Regions from separate parts of the Homo sapiens genome. Here region 2 is linked to region 1. The links are contacts of gene promoters, found by promoter capture Hi-C in human tissues and cell types (Jung and others, 2019). All regions are on one chromosome and are shown on one strand. The core of a region is centred on a gene start or on the middle of the fragment in contact, and the rest is flanking DNA. Distances in the headings are between cores, read along the strand shown. Region 1 holds the start of IL17D (interleukin 17D). Region 2 overlaps CRYL1 (crystallin lambda 1).

Region 1 (4,592 bases), core at 1,872-4,371:
CTGTGTGTCATTCTCATCCATAACCTCCCTCGGCTCCCAGATCCTGCCTGGGGCGACATAGGTGTCATCTGTAGCAAGGGCAACTCAATTTAACTTCCCACACACAGAATGCCAGTGCTGCTAACTCTCCATGTGTCCTCCAGCCCTGCTCTGTCTCCTGAGCTCCAACCAGTCATTGTCACCTGTACGCCTTTCAGGCAGGCAAAACTCAACAGGCTTGTTACTAAATTCATTATTTCCTCCCACAACACTTGTTCCTAAGTGTATTTTCTCATTTTGCTCAAATACCATCAACAACCCAAGCCAGAAACATGAGAGACATGCCTTTGGGAGGCTATATACTACTCTTAGGCCCTTGGCCCAGCCTGTGGGGAGCCACGGGTTTGCCTGAGAGTTCGAATCTGCTATAGAAAGCAGGGCCAGCAGCTTCTGTCCAGAGAAGTTAATCTCTGGTTCTGAGAGATTCCTTATGTGGCTTTAATCCTATTTGGTATATCAGAAGCATAACACGAGGTTAGAGAAAGAAGAATGCCGTAGTCCATCCCTTCAGGTCCTGGAAATGGAGGAAGAGAGAGGAAAAGCAAGAGCACCAAGATACCAGAATGAATGGCGCCATGTGTGTGCCCTGCAGGCTCCAGCTGAAGGACAGGAGTGAGAAGGGCGGGAGGGGTCCCACCCAACTTCCCCGTGGGCAGGGGCTCTGAGGGGGCTCTGCCACAGTGAGCTTGGTCCTCTGCAGAGTAGCCAGGAGGCAGGAGGCCCTAAAACTTGGCTTCCCAGGACAGCATAGGGGTCCTGTGTGTTGTTGAGTAAAAGGAAATCTCCCTACCCAGCAGCCGGCAGGGAGAGGCTCCAGGAAAGCCCAGATGCGTTTTAGACAAAATCATCACATTTCCTCTGACTCTCCACAGCACTTGTCTTCTTTAATGAGCATCTTTCACGCTGATCCTAGTCTCCCCTTCCCACCGCGCTGCCTGAGTGAAGCCCTAGATCCTTTGGATGGAAGTGCTGGAGAGCATTGTCCAATCCATGCCCCATTGGGACACCCTCCTAAACCAGAGTGGCTGTATGGCTTCCTCCATCTCAAGTGTCAAGACTTTTTTTCTCTTTAATTTTTATTTTAGAGACGGGGTCTCGCTTTGTCACGCAGGTTGGAAGGCAGTGGCGCCACCACAGCTCACTGCAGCCTGAACCTCCCGGGCTCAATCTATCCTCCCACTTAAGCCTCTGGAGTAGCTGGGACCACAGGCACGTGCCACCACACTTCGCTAATCCTTAAAAATTGTTTGCAGAAATGGGATCTCGCTATGTTTCCCAGGCTGGTCTCGAACTCCTGGACTTAAATCCTCCTGCCTCGGCCTCCCAAAGTGCTGGGATTCCAGGCGTGAGGGTGAAGCTCTGCACTGCTGACAAGGCGGGGATCCAGCTCCTGCACCTGTCTCCAGCCTTACATCGATGCCCACCCCACAGGCAAACACCTCGCCTACGCCCCCCCACCCCCACCGCCCCCGCTCGCCTTGTGGCTCTCCCCATTTTCCAAGCGCTTTGTTCCCGCTTGCTATCAGCTGTCCCTTCCCTCAGCACTGCCTTTGTAGGCGACTTGCTCTCCTCCATCAAGACTCAGCTCTTTCACGAAGCCTTTCTTGACCTCTGTGGCCCTGGGAGGCCTTGCCCCCTAGGGCAGCTCCTCCTGCTCCAGCTAGAGGGAAGACGGTCACAGGTGCCTGCTGAGGACACTGCGGCACCCTGCCTACACGCCCCCAACTTCTCCAGCCTTCCCCTTCTGCAGGCTGTCCCTTTCTTCTGAAATGACCTCTGTTCCAAGACCAAAATACTCTCGAAACTGTTCATGTCACTTCATGCACTGCCTGATGGTGTGGTTTCTTTCCCAATTATCCCCACTCCTTCCTTAGGCTATTAAACTAGAGGGGCTCAGAGGGCGCTTCCCAGGGCTCCACTCCAGCAGCCTCTGGACCACAGGGGCACTCAGGAAATATGTGGATAGTACCGCGCACCCCCCAGCAGCACCTCCCCGGGCCCCCTGTGCAGAGTACGGTCCACATCACTGTGTCCACATCACGGAAGGGTCCCCAGCTAGTGCCTTGCGGACCCATCCAACCTGGAGGAGATGAGGTGTTCAAGAGATACGTGTTGCATAGGAAATACTGGAGGGTAAAGAGAGGAAGCAGGACTCCTTCAAGGGAGGTGGTGGGGGTGGGCCTTCGCAGTTTAGGAATTGCCCCCCAGTGCTCCAACTGCCCCGCCCCACCCCGCCTCATCGCAGCGCCCCTCGCACCCCACCCCACCCTACCGTACCCTACCCTGTCTCGCCCCGCACCACCCCACCCCTACCTGCTCCGCCTCGCCCCGCGTGCCACGCCCCCTCCGCGTCGCCCCGCCCCAACCACCTCCCCTTCCCCGCCCCACCCTCCCCGCCTGCCCGGCCTCGGCCCGGCCCCACCCACTCTCCCCGCCCAGCCCTGCCCTCCCCACCTGCCGGGCCCCGCCAGGACGCGCCCGCGGCTCACCTGTAGGCCCAGGGCGACACGCTGCGCAGGTTGGTGGGCGGCCGGAAGCGGCGGTCGGCGGGCCTGCCCCCTGCCGGGCAGCTCGCGTTGCGCGCCTGCTCACGCGGCCCCAGCTGCAGCGTGTGGTGGAAGGCACTGAGCACGCCGGCCGCCAGGCGCCCGTACAGCTGCTCCAGTAGCTCCTCCGGCCGGTCCGCGCAGCCCCGCGGCCGCGCGGGGCGCCTGCCCGCCCTCGGGGCGCCCGCGGCCCAGCTCGGCGGCAGCGCCAGCAGGAAGCCGGCTACCAGCATCCAGACCTGAGGGACAGGCCACGCTCAGCGTCCGCACGCGCCGGAGGAGCCCGCCTGCGCCCCGCGCCCGTGTCCCGCCCGCGGCGCCCGGAGCCGGCGGGCGCCTCCCCTCGCCCCGCGGAGCCAGAGGCCGGCCCGGAGGATGGGAGCCGCGCGGGCGGGCCCCAGAGCGCCCTCCCCGCCTGCCCGCCGCCCGCGGGGTCCCCGGGGCCCAGCCCGGCGCCGGCCCGCGCGCCCCCGGCCCCCGCCGCCGCCGCCGCCCCGAGCCGGGGGCCGCACGGGGGGCGGGTGCGGGGCGCGCGTGCACGTGTGCGTGTGCCTGCCGGGTTGCTGCGCCGCGGGCTGCGAGTGCTTGTGACCCGCCGCACCCTCACCCCCGGGCGCGCCATCCCTGCTCCGCCGCCAGCGAGGGAGCCCCGGAGCCTAAGACGCCCGGACCCGCCGCCTCGCAGACCCACCCTTGCCCCTGCGCCTCGTCATCCGCCCGCCCCAGCCAGCCCGCGCAGGGTCCGCGGCCCGCTTTTCCGCGAGAAGCCCCCTGTGGTCTTTCCTCGTACCCGGGGACTCGGACCGAGAAGCCGACTGAGCGAGGTCGCCGCCCGGCCTCACGGACACAGAGCGACTCTGCACCTTTCGCCTCCAGGAGCTGAAAACATTTTGTCACTTGTGCAGTGTACTCACCAGTGCCCCCAACATCTTCTCCCCCGAAAGCGCTTTCAGATTCGCGCCGAGATGGGGCGACGCGGCGGCTCTTGAGCGGAATAACCCGAAGGGCCACGCAAACTGGGGCTTCCAGCCGCGAGCATGCGGCGGGGCGCCCAGGGCCTGGGGTCGCGCGCTCAGGGCCTGTGCTGCGCCACGCAGGAGGAGGAGAGGGCTGGCCCTGCCGGGCGCGGGTGCGGGCCCGACTGGCTGAAGGAGGAGTGGGGACTGGCTTGGAAGTCTCCGAAGCAGAAAAGTGGGGCCGACAGGATGGAATTGGGGGAGGCCGATTTTGGCTCAGAGAGATTTCTCTATTAAGGAAAGCAGTCCAAGAATAGGCCCCCTGGAAGAGGAATGCGCTCAAACCCAGAGGGATTCTCCTTAGAGCTACCTCTTGAGATTCTGTACTTCGAGGAAATTAGAGGTTTTTTTAAATCTCTATTTTTAATAAGGTGGGAGGAGGCTGTTGCTCCTTTCTCCTCAACAACATGAAATGATCCTGTGCCTCTATCCAACAACTCTACAACAAAGCACTGAATACTTCCCTGACTGGCACTTTCATGGCTGTTCATGGGCATCTCTTGGTCTATGACGACGATGTTGGAGAGTTCCTACTCCGTGATAACTCAGTTCTAAGTGCAAGCAGTCACGTGAAATGAGCCTGATAGTCTGCGAATGAAGAAACTAAAACGAACTATATTATATACTTCATAACACAAGACAACGTGCTCGTTTGTTCATTCTGCAAGTAAATGCTTAATGCTTCCTAGGTGGCAGGCTAAAGAATATGATCATTTTAAAGCAGTCATGCTTTGAAAATAAACAACCCATCCCAGCTGTAAGCTTTTTGAAAGTGTACAAAATATGTAATTGATGACTCCCTAAATGGTTTGCAGCTTTGGTATTTGACTGAATTGTAAACCATTAGTTAAACTACATTTCAGTTATGCTTTGTAGGAAAAACACTTTCCTATGCATTGAATGTTCTATAACTAAGGAGCTTAGTAATCTACTGCTAAAAATCTCACTGAAATCTCCAGTTTAAGCGATTTAAGCAATTTACAGCTCTTGG
Region 2 (4,592 bases), core at 1,117-3,616, 290 kb after region 1:
AAACCTTTTGTGACTCCTGACTCTTAATTTTTCTCCTGTTTCTCAGTTGACAGTGGACTTATGCCCAAACTCTAGCTGAGGAGTGGAAGAACTTGAATAGAACCTCATCCAAATTCCTGGGTAGCAAGTCTGTGTTCCTGCTGGTGATAGTAGTAGTAAAGTTATTGTAGTGTTTGCACAAGAAAAATGTGAAAATTCAGGACCAAGTTTGGGGGAAAAGTAGAGCAAAACAAAATAGAAGATCAAAAGCTGGGAATTAGTAAAAAAGAAGTGGATGAGGAAGAATGGTATGAAGAAAAATGAGAAAAGCAAATGAAAATGAGGCCATGCAAAAAATACATGAATCAGAAAATTAAATCTAGGAATGGGATGATTATAGAGAAGGAAAGATGGTTCGGTGTAGCTGGTGATCAGTAGAGGAGATAGTCACGGAGGAGGATTTATCCATCAAATATCGTGTGCCTCCACCACACAAGTTTCTCTCCTGCCTTCCTCTTCTTCTGGGACTGTCCGAAGGACCAGAGTAAGTACCACAGCATCTGTTAACCCTTTGCTATTGTTAATTGTTAGATGTGTCTTGCTTCCTCTTCTCCCCATCCCCACCCCACAAACAAACAGAAGTGCTTGATCCAAGATCCCTGAGGGTATCTGTCCCCTGAGAGGGTCAGCTCGGCCAGGCTAGAGCGTCCAGTCACTCAGTCAAACTCAGTCTAGATGTTGCTGGGAAGGTATTTGGTACATAGTTGACTTTAAGTAAATGAGATTATTCTCCATAGTCTGGGTGGGCTAAATCCAGTCCATTGAAAGGCCTTGCAAGCAGAACTGAGATCTCCCTGAGGAAGGAGAAATTCCACCTGCAGACTGTGGGGTAGTTCCTGCCTGGAGTTGCCGGCCTGCCCTCCTGATGGCCTGTCCATGGCTTTCTGACTTGCCAGGCCCACAGTCACATGAGCCAATTCCTTGAAATAAATCTCTTGATGTATGTGTGTATGTGTGTGAATCTTACTGGCTTTGTCTGGTAGAACCCTGAGTGATACATCCCTAAACCTTTCATTCGACTTAACATTTGTTTCATAGCAGTTGGGTACGTTATTAACTATCTTGCATTTTCTCCTACTTCACGGATGTCTTGTGGCTCCTCTCAGCCTGGGCATTTTCTCCTACCAAATCAGGTGCAAAATATGTGCCCCAGCTATGCATGTGTTACTCCACTGTGGAAAAATCTCAGGTTTTAACTAAGGAAGCAGAAGCAAGGAGTTTTTCAATAAAAGGGGTTCCTTAACACTGTCTGGGATCTCTTTGCCCAATGATTTTCAGGACGCGAAACCATGTTTTGAACTAACAGTGATTGTAGTATTCATTGCTTTGTATGATTTTTAAATAATCTTTTCTTTGTATGTGTGACTTGAGAATTTTACCTTAAAATGGAGTAAGTACTGATTGCTAAACTGATCAATGTTAACAGAACCACAGAAGGGCTGGACTCAGGTAGGGTTCCCATCTCCGCACAGCTGTGTTGCCCGTCACCTATTATAAGGAATCGCTTGTCAGTTCCCTGTTTCAACACAAGCACTTGTTTCTGCCTGTCATGCTGCTGCGATTATTTATCAATGACAAATGATTATTTGTCATTGTTATGATAATATTAGGCCACAGATGTCACAAGGCTTTGGGTGGAATTAAGCTCAGTGGCAAAATTAAGCAACCTGAGCTTCAAAACATCCTAAATGGAAAAGCTTTAGTTCAGCACCAAGTGCAGCAGGGAGAAACTCAAACGTTTGCCTTGGGGACATGATATCCTAGTTGTGGAGCTTCTCAACTGAATGCCTTGTGGTCCTTTTCTTTCTCTATATTTAGCTTCTTGGTAAAAACTCAAGCTTTGAGAAATCCATTTCAGAAATTCAAATGGGCAGAAAGAAGCAGTGAGGAAGGGAAAGTATCAAAACGTTTTTCCCTTTCTAACTTGTTCTACTGGTGAATAGTGACTGATGGAAGACCCACAGCCCTCCTCTAGATGAAATCAGGCAGAACTGAGAACATGGGAGTTGGAGGGAATGTGGTTCCTCCCAGGTCATGGGGCAGCATGGAGAACCCTTCTCAGGCGTTAGTTAGGGGCTGTTAGCTCAGATGATACAAACCAAAAAGGACCTACTCTTGAGTGGCTCACCTTTTTTCTATTTTGCAATCCTAAAAATGATTTTTTAAAAATCAGCTCTAAAAATACTAAATACGATTCTAAAAGAGCCAAGCCAAATAACACTGCAAGTATAGGGTGGCTTCCATGTTTGCATACTTCCCAGTTTGAATACTAAAATGAAAACTTGGGGCTGTTTGGAATGTTGGCCTGGAAAGCAAGGGTGAGGGAGCGACTGCAGGCCGCCTGGCTGCCTTTCACAGCATTCCAGAGCCCACGGGGGTGCGAGGGGCCACAGCCCAGGCCTTCCAGCAGCCTGGAGAGAGGGCAGGGAGCCACCCTTCCTGCCTCCAGACCTCCTGCCAGGGAGAGGAGGCGACAATGCCTGTGTTCCACACGGGATTCTTGACGGTTCCGGGAGTTTCTGTGGGCCTTAGGTAGATATCCCCCAGCCCCCGTGATGCCCCGACCCGTTACAGCTTCGCTATTGGGAGTGAAAGGAGGCGACCCTCCTCAGCATTGCAGTGACTTGCACAGACTGATTCACTCTCCTTAGCAGTCAGTGAACATGTGGTAGGGTGATTTAGAACTCGAAGGAAACCTGGTGAGATACCATTTCACCCTACCAGATTAGCGAAACTTTGCAAGGGTGAGGACACCAAGCGTGGCGAGGCTGAGGCGCGACGGGACCTCTTCTACACAATTCTGGAGGCCGGGGCGCCGCAGTGACGGGGAGAAGGATGCTCTGGGCCCCAGCCGCGGCCCGGGCCCTGTGCGCGTGACCCTGGCTGCCCTGCTCACAGGAGCCCCAGACTAGCCAAAGGCTCATGGCCGCAGGGTGGATGACTAAACTCATATCTCTGCATCAAGGAGATGGACACATGACGCAGGTGAATCTGAGAAACAGGATGGTGAGAGACAAGTCACGAAAGAACGCGCGCTCAGTGATTCCACTTACAGGAAGATTAGAAATGGGCCAGCAGCAAACGCTGCAGCTGAGGAATGTGAACACGGGCGGCCAGTCTGAAAAGCGGGAAAGCCGCAATTGCAGGAGTCAGGGTGCGGGCCTCTAGAAGCGGGCGGAGTCTGCGGCAGGCGAGGCCAAGCGTTTGCTTTGTAATTCTCCTGGAAACGTGGACTGTGGCTTGTTCAGCCTCGATATGCTTGTGTCCCGTGTGCGCAAACAAAACGAAACGCAAAGTGGCTCTCTAAAAGGGAGTCGCGGGTCACAGTGAGTGGCCCTGGCCCTCGCCCTCGCCGGTGGTGGCGTGGCTGTGGCCGTCCTGGCTCCTGGGCCAGGCCGCCTGCTCCCGCTTCACCGCCGCGCTCTCTGCAGACGCAGGGCGGTGTCCAAGCCAGCACACGGACCTGAGGCACCTGGCTGTCGCCCGCCGCAGCCGGTTGCGGGGCACGGCGGGGGTTTCGAACCCCTTTTCTCGCTTCTCGGGGGACCCCTGGGGCTGCCCTGGAGGCCCAGGAACCTCGAGGCCAGGCCCAGGCGCCCCAGGCTCGCAGCAGGGCAGAGGGTGCCTCCCTGCAGGCCGCTGTGCCAGGGTCCCCGCAGAGCCCTCCGGGCGGAGCAAGCCCCCAGCTTGGAGACGGCCTTCTGGGCAAAGACAGGCTCTACCCGCAAGCCTGGGAGGGACTGGGGCCGGGTGCGGGCGAGGGGAGGTGCCCCGGGGTAGGGAAACCGGGCTCAGCCGAGGGCAGGCGGGCCCGCCCAGGCCGCGATGGGAAGGGCGCGACGCATCGTCCACGGTCGGGCTCTCGCAGGCGGGCCAGCGCTACTGCCTCAGTCCTACAGAGCTCTGGTGAAAGACAGCGCTCAGATGAGACCTGGGGCGGCGGATTCCGCGGGAGTGCTGCCTGTCTGAGCCGTGAAGGCGTAGGGGAAAAGGTGGCGGCTTCCCTCCGTCCGCCCTCCTGACAGTGGAAATGCCCAAGGGGGAGGCATCCTCTGACGGGAGGGACCTCAGTGGAGCGCAGCTCTTGCAGATCATTATCTGCGCTTGCCTGCCTCCATCCCAAAGCCACGTGAGGCCAAGGAACACAGGTGGCTGATCAGACGTCTAACCTTAATACATAACAACTTGCCTCTTGCTTTGCAATTTACATTGCAGAAGATTCCAGGGCCCCACCTTAGCAAACAAACCCATGGTTCTAAGCTGCATTTCATCAAAGAATATCACTTTTTACGAACTCATTAAAAGCTGAACAAGGCCGGACTTGCAGGCATGTGAAGCCTGGAGAGCACCTTCCCACGTCTTTTGATGGCTCTAATCTTACTCCCCCCTGGGTCCTAGGCAGAAATCTAGAAAATCCTTCATGTCCTTTTACTACGATGCCCCGTCCTCACGCTCCCCTTGTCGTCAGCTTCTCTCACTCCCTGCAGCTGCAGGCGGTCCGTAGGTTGTAGGGTGAGCTAAGGAGGCAGGGAGGTCAAGAGGAATTGATTTCA

The links. The method cuts DNA at HindIII sites, captures the fragments that hold promoters and counts their contacts. A contact is called where the count stands out against the background at its distance.
Region 2: a contact is called between a fragment that was not itself captured here and the fragment with the promoter of IL17D in region 1, in 1 of the 25 tissues and cell types used here (mesendoderm cells).

Annotation. Positions count from the first base shown.
Region 1 is chr13:20,702,228-20,706,819 of GRCh38, reverse strand. IL17D (interleukin 17D) reads right to left here and starts at 3,121. Exons shown (of 2, transcript NM_001385224.1): 1 at 2,529-3,121. The coding sequence starts at 2,818. RefSeq lists silencers at 2,300-2,809, 3,100-3,239, 3,660-3,739. The HindIII fragment of the contact is 9,244 bases long and covers 682-4,592 here.
Region 2 is chr13:20,414,329-20,418,920 of GRCh38, reverse strand. The region is part of intron 5 of CRYL1 (crystallin lambda 1); the gene reads left to right. Among named protein-coding and RNA genes, the nearest start is that of MIR4499, 17 kb to the left of the region's middle. RefSeq lists enhancers at 2,480-3,061, 3,062-3,643. The HindIII fragment of the contact is 4,144 bases long and covers 295-4,438 here.